Regions from separate parts of the Homo sapiens genome. Here region 1 is linked to region 2. Evidence: promoter capture Hi-C in 16 types of primary human blood cells and fetal thymus (Javierre and others, 2016). All regions are on one chromosome and are shown on one strand. The core of a region is centred on a gene start or on the middle of the fragment in contact, and the rest is flanking DNA. Distances in the headings are between cores, read along the strand shown.

Region 1 (2,841 bases), core at 229-2,728, 250 kb before region 2:
TCATGCTCACACGCATTCATGGACACACATGTACTCTCGCATGCACACATAGCTTGTCGGCCCCGGGCAGTGAGGCCATGTGCAGTGGCAGAGGCTCAGCACATGAAGCAGCACTGAGCATTTCCTGGCTCCTGTTGCCAAAAATCACATCTTTATGCAGTAATCTGCCAACAAATTGTTAAATGTTAGAAGTTTACAAGTTCCCTTTTCCTTCCCCCCTCTTTCCCTTTGTCCCTCCCTCCCTTCCTTCCTCTCTCCCTCCCACTCTCCTTCCTTCCTGTTTCTCCCTCTCTCCCTCTCTTTCTCTCTACACTTATTTACTACCCATCAGGTGGCCGGCATTGTGCTTGGTGCTAGGATAACAGTGGAGAAAACGCTCGGCAGCTGTGGGCCTCGTGGATTTGGGGAGATGGACGATACACAAGTGAAAATGGATGAAGGGAGCATCCAGCGCTCCAGGCGGTGAGGAGCGGCCCAGGGCGCACCCCATGAACCCACACAGCCCCGGGCGGGGGGGAGGGGGCTTCCCATCTGCAGTAGCTGTAAAGGGTCGTTCTGGGAGCATCACAGGCAAAGGCCGGGCTGAGCAGAGGGTGAGGGGTCCAGGAGCCAGTGGGCCGGGGCCTCCTGCAGAGGCCTCCTGGGCAGAGCTGGTGGGGAGAAGTCTGGTGCCGTGGGCTCCGTCGGGCAGCCTGGGGGTTTGGAGCTTACCCTCCTGCGAGGAGAGACTGGAGGAGGTTGAGGAGCCGCACGCTGGGACTCGGGTCTTCAAGGGGTCCCTCTTGCTGGTGAGTCGGGTTGAGGGAGGAGGAGGCTGGGAGGCTGGGAGGCTGGAGGCTTAAGTGGGGGCGGGGGCGCCAGGGGGCACTATGGAGAGGGAGACAGCAGGTGCACTCAAGATGGATTCGGAGTGGAGTCCACAGGATGGGCCGATTGATCCGAGATGGATGCAAAGTGGAGTCCACAGGTTGTGCTGATTAATCTGAGTTGGATTCGGAGTGGAATCCACAGGATGGGCCAATGGCTTGGAGGGGGCGGAGGGAGAAAGGGAGGACGAGGGCTTGCCAGTGGGACACCGGGCAGGGGGCGGCTGGAGCCATGGGGAGGACCGAGGGGCCGGGAGCAGGTTTGGAGCAATGGATGTGGGGCCTGTTTTGGATGTGGGGCCTGTGAGATGCTACGGCGACACGTTTGTGTATTCGGCCACAGCACCCATTCTCCCTGATTTGGGTGGCGCCCCCTCCCCCATTTCCTTTAGGGAATCACCTCTTTCCATAGCAGTCGCACGGGACATGGGGAGCGTGTGGCCATTTCCTCAGCCACCGGGGTCCCACCTCCTGGCCTGTGAGCTGAGGGTCCCAGGGACAGAGCACACCCAGAAGCCTGTGCTCCTCCCGGGAGGCCCTGTGGCTGTGAAGAGGCTGTGCCCCCAAGACGCCATTTTGCAGAGCCCAGCCGGATGTTTTAGCGACACTGTGACCCCGGAGCTGGTGGAGAGGCACTTCATCCCCCAAGGGCGGGTTTCATTCTCAGCAGCACAGGGACCCTGGCGCTGGGCCTCTGAAGGTTCACCCTGCGGGGTGCAGGAACAGACATGGGATCTCCAGCGGCTGCAGGGAAGAGGTGCAAGCCCCAGCCAGCAGAGCCTCTGGAAGGGGTTAGGTCGCTGCGGGCGAGGGCCTGGGCATAAATGCGGCATTCTCGGTTTCGATGCTCCCCTGTAACTGGCATCTGAAGTTTCTGGTGAATTCCAAGGGAGGCCTCCTGCCAGGCTTTGCTCCCTTGGGGAATGTTCTCTGTAAGAGCCGAGGCCATCACGGTCTCTGCCTGCCTCTGACAATTGTCACACTCACTGACCTGTGCCTTGTGAGCTTGGTTCAATTATCTAACACACACCTGGTATTTAATTCTACCTTTTACAAAACACCCAGCCACGGTGGATCAAGGAATCAAATTTGCTTTTAAAAAATACCAGTATTATTGGAACAAGAAACCAGCTAGAGATGTGTGTGCGGCCGTATAAGCAACAGTGTCTGAGCGACTCTTATCACCTGGGCGGATGGAGTGCAGCCTTTGGAGGAAGCGTGGCTTTAGGGCACAGCACGTTCACAGGGAGGAAGCGGGAATGACAGCACATTCACAGGGAGGAAGCGGGGATGGAGAGGCAGGGGGCCAGTGTGGAGGGGTCGGAATGACAGCACGTTCACAGGGAGGAAGCGGGGATGGAGAGGCAGGGGGCCAGTGTGGAGGGGTCGGTATGACAGCACGTTCACAGGGAGGAAGCGGGAATGGAGAGGCAGGGGGCCAGCGTGGAGGGGTCCGGTGGTGTTGACCTCTGCCAACACACAGGGGTGCGGGGACACAGCCAGGCTGCTGCAGGGCCTCATGGGGTTGCAGGGAGCCCCACATCCATAGCAAGCAGGCCGTCCGCCCCGGCATGCACACGGCACACAAGGCAGGGACATTTGTTGGTTGGTTGGCTCAGCATGCACGGGCATCGCTCAGCCTGCCGGAGCAGGGAGTAGCCGGGATTTGGCCAAGGGCTTCCGAGCCCTGGGCAGAGGCTGGGCTGTGTACCCCATCCCTAGACACCACCACTGAGGACACAGCGCCCGGCCTGAGGATGGTTTCATTCCTGGGGCAGGAGGACTCTGGGTGACTGGCGCGGCGGGGTGCTGGCACCGGTGCGGGGAGGCCAGCTTCGTGGGGTGGGTGACTGGCGTTGCGGGGTGCCAGCCCGGTGCAGGGAGGCCAGCCGCGTGGGGTGGGTGACTGGCGTTGTGGGATGCCGGCCCGGTGCGGGGATGCCAGCTGCGTGGGGTGGGTGACTGGCGTTGCAGG
Region 2 (2,736 bases), core at 191-2,690:
ACAAGTCAAACTCCTAGCCCTTCTACCCAGCATGGGGAATTCCCTACACTTCCCGGAGACGTGATGTGGCCTCACCAAGTCCAAAACCCTATTCAAGGGCGCTGAGGGGTTTTGTGGCTTCTGTGTGTAACCTTGGCTCTGACTGCCTTCAAATGGTCGCTTGTGTTTGCTTTTTAGATTCAGTAGTTCTATTAAATCCACAGATATGTGCAGCCATGGCTGCAGACAACTCTGGAACATTCTCATCCCCTCACAAGGAGCCCCCCACACCCTTTTCCAGCCCCTCCCTCCCAACTGGGCACCCCCGGGCCCACTTCCTGTCTCTGTGATTTCCCGTTCTGGACACTGCACAGAAATGGACTCGTAGAGCCGTGGCCTCTGTACCTGGCTTTTTCTCGCAGCACCGTGTCCTCCGGGTTGGTGGTGTGGCCGCGCGGCTCAGAGCATCCCCCTTCTCATGGCTGAGTCACACTTCATCCGTCCATTTGTCCGATGATGGGCATTTGCCAGAGGGCGTGATTCTGAAGAATAACATCTGTCCTACAGCGAGTGTGACCCAGGGCTGCTTTGGAGGCAGAATCGGGCACTAGATGCCTTATTTTGTGGTGAAACCGAAGCCGGCTTCTGATGTGAGCCTCGGTGCAGCCGGACAGGATCTTCCACCACTGGTACATCCGACGTGGCCGCTTGTCTTCCTCGGGTCTGGGTTTCAGAGCTCAGATCCGACTGAGGAGTAACCCCGCGGATTCACACTGACCCGGGGCCCGCGGCCGTGCCTCCAGACCAGAGCATGTGATCACAGGCGTCCTCGTCCTCCTCCCAGCGAGCTGGCACGGGCTGCATGGGAACCAAATCATAACCCACCATTAATGGAGGTGGCTCCAGATGTCACCCTGACTGACCGAAGGAGTGAGGAGCCCAAGGCCCCATGGGCTCTGCCCGCCCTGCCTGTCACTGGACACCTCTGTGATCCCTCCCTCTCCCAAGGCCCTGTCTGAGCCCCTGCTGCAGGCCGGCCCCACAACTGCCTGCAGGGAAGCACCGGGATGAGGCCCCTCTGCTGCCTGAACTGGCCACAGCCCTGAGGCTGCTGAATACAGAGGCACCCGCCTGGCCTGCATGTCAGCAGGACGCCTGCGTGTGCATGGCTTCGACCTCCATTTCCTCATCTTGAGATGTGGGGCTGACGCTGACAGCTCGGCAGGTGGGCTCCTGGGGAGGAAAGGATCCAGGGGAGCCGCTCCTCAGACCCCTCAAACCGAGCCATCCCCAAGCACAGATGCATCCTTGGTAAATTCAGGTGAGACTCCTAAGACAGGACACAGCAAATTTGTTTGCAACAAGAAACAGCTTCTGCTTCTAGGAGAACATCTGTGAACGAGCAGGTCCTGCAGGTCCTGTAGGCACCTCCTGGAGTGACCTCACGGCCGCTGACCTCACAGCTGAAGACACAATGCTGAGAGAAGAAACCAGGCACAGAGGCCACAGCACTGTGACGCCATTTCTGCACAGTGTCCAGAGCGGGAAACCAAGCTCCTGCCTCCAGCAGGCACCAGCAGCCTGAGACTTTTTCTCTGATTGTTTCAACCTCTTAAAAGTGGACTTTTGTACCCCGGTGTTCATAGCAGCAGCATTCACAGTAGCCACATGGAGGAAATTCCCCAAGTGTCTGTCAGCGGATGGACAAACACAACGTGTCCATTCACACAGCGGAGCGTTACTCGGCCTTAGAAAGGAAGGCGATTCTGACACACAGTGCGACACGGATGAACCTTGAGTCACTGGAGTCTCAGCTAAGGCAGACACAAAGGACAAATACCGTGCGATTCCATTCATATGAGGTCCCTAGAGTGGTCAAATTCATAGAGACAGAAAGTGGCGTGGTGGGTGCCGGGGCTGGGGGGGGGGGGGGGGGGAGGGGGGAGGGGGTGATGTTTACTGGGTGCAGAGCTTCGGTTTTGCAGGATGAAGGCGTTCTGGAGGTGGATGGTGGGGGCGGCCACACAGCAGTATGAATGTGCTTAATGCCCCTGATCTGTGCACCTAAAGATGGTTGAGGTGGGAAATGTTATGTTATATGTATTTTACCATAATTTAAAATTTGAGGCCAGGCATGGTGGCTCATGCCTGTAATCCCAGCACTTTGGGAGGCTGAGGTGGGCAGATCACTTGAGGTCAGGAGTTCAAGACCAGCCTGGACAACATGGTGAAACCCTGTCTGTACTACAAATACAAAAATTAGCCGGGCGTGGTGCCGCACACTTGTAATCCCAGCTACTCGGGAGGCTGAGGCAGGAGAATCGCTTGAATCCGAGAGGCAGAGGTTGCCGTGAGCCGAGATCTCGCCACTGCACTCCAGCCTGGGTGACAGAATGAGACTCCATCTCAAAAATAAAATAAAATAAAATTTGAAATTTTTTTTAAGCAAACAACTAATTTACATTTTCCTGGAATAGACCAACACATATGTGACTGTGAGAAAATCACTCCCCACTTTGGCCCCGGCTCCTCCTCTATAAATTTTGGAGGTAGCTTCTGGCCAATCCCCCAGTTCCCTGGCGATGTCTGTTGTGTCCTAATATCCACCCACTTGTTCCTGCAGTGCTCTGGACTGGGAGTTTTTCTCGGTGGGAGAAGATTATTTCCTGGTGGTGGCCAACTCCTTCGATGGGCGTACCTTCTCGGTGAACAGTATTATTTACAGGTAATGAGCTGCCGAGGCCGGCCTCCTCCCAG

Evidence for each region. Contacts are between HindIII fragments. The CHiCAGO score rates a contact against its expected background, and 5 or more counts as called.
Region 1: a fragment that was not itself captured here is called in contact with the fragment with the promoter of TSPEAR-AS1 in region 2 in 11 of 17 cell types (total CD8 T cells, naive CD4 T cells, naive CD8 T cells and 8 more); the score reaches 23.4 in total CD8 T cells.

Annotation. Positions count from the first base shown.
Region 1 is chr21:44,750,083-44,752,923 of GRCh38, reverse strand. No RefSeq gene overlaps it. Among named protein-coding and RNA genes, the nearest start is that of TSPEAR, 40 kb to the right of the region's middle. The HindIII fragment of the contact is 6,978 bases long and covers 1-2,841 here.
Region 2 is chr21:44,504,748-44,507,483 of GRCh38, reverse strand. It overlaps TSPEAR-AS1 (TSPEAR antisense RNA 1), which reads right to left and starts at 1,440. Exons shown (of 7, transcript NR_103707.1): 1 at 1,156-1,440; 2 at 385-837. It overlaps TSPEAR (thrombospondin type laminin G domain and EAR repeats), which reads left to right. Exons shown (of 12, transcript NM_144991.3): 11 at 2,603-2,704. The HindIII fragment of the contact is 6,455 bases long and covers 1-2,736 here.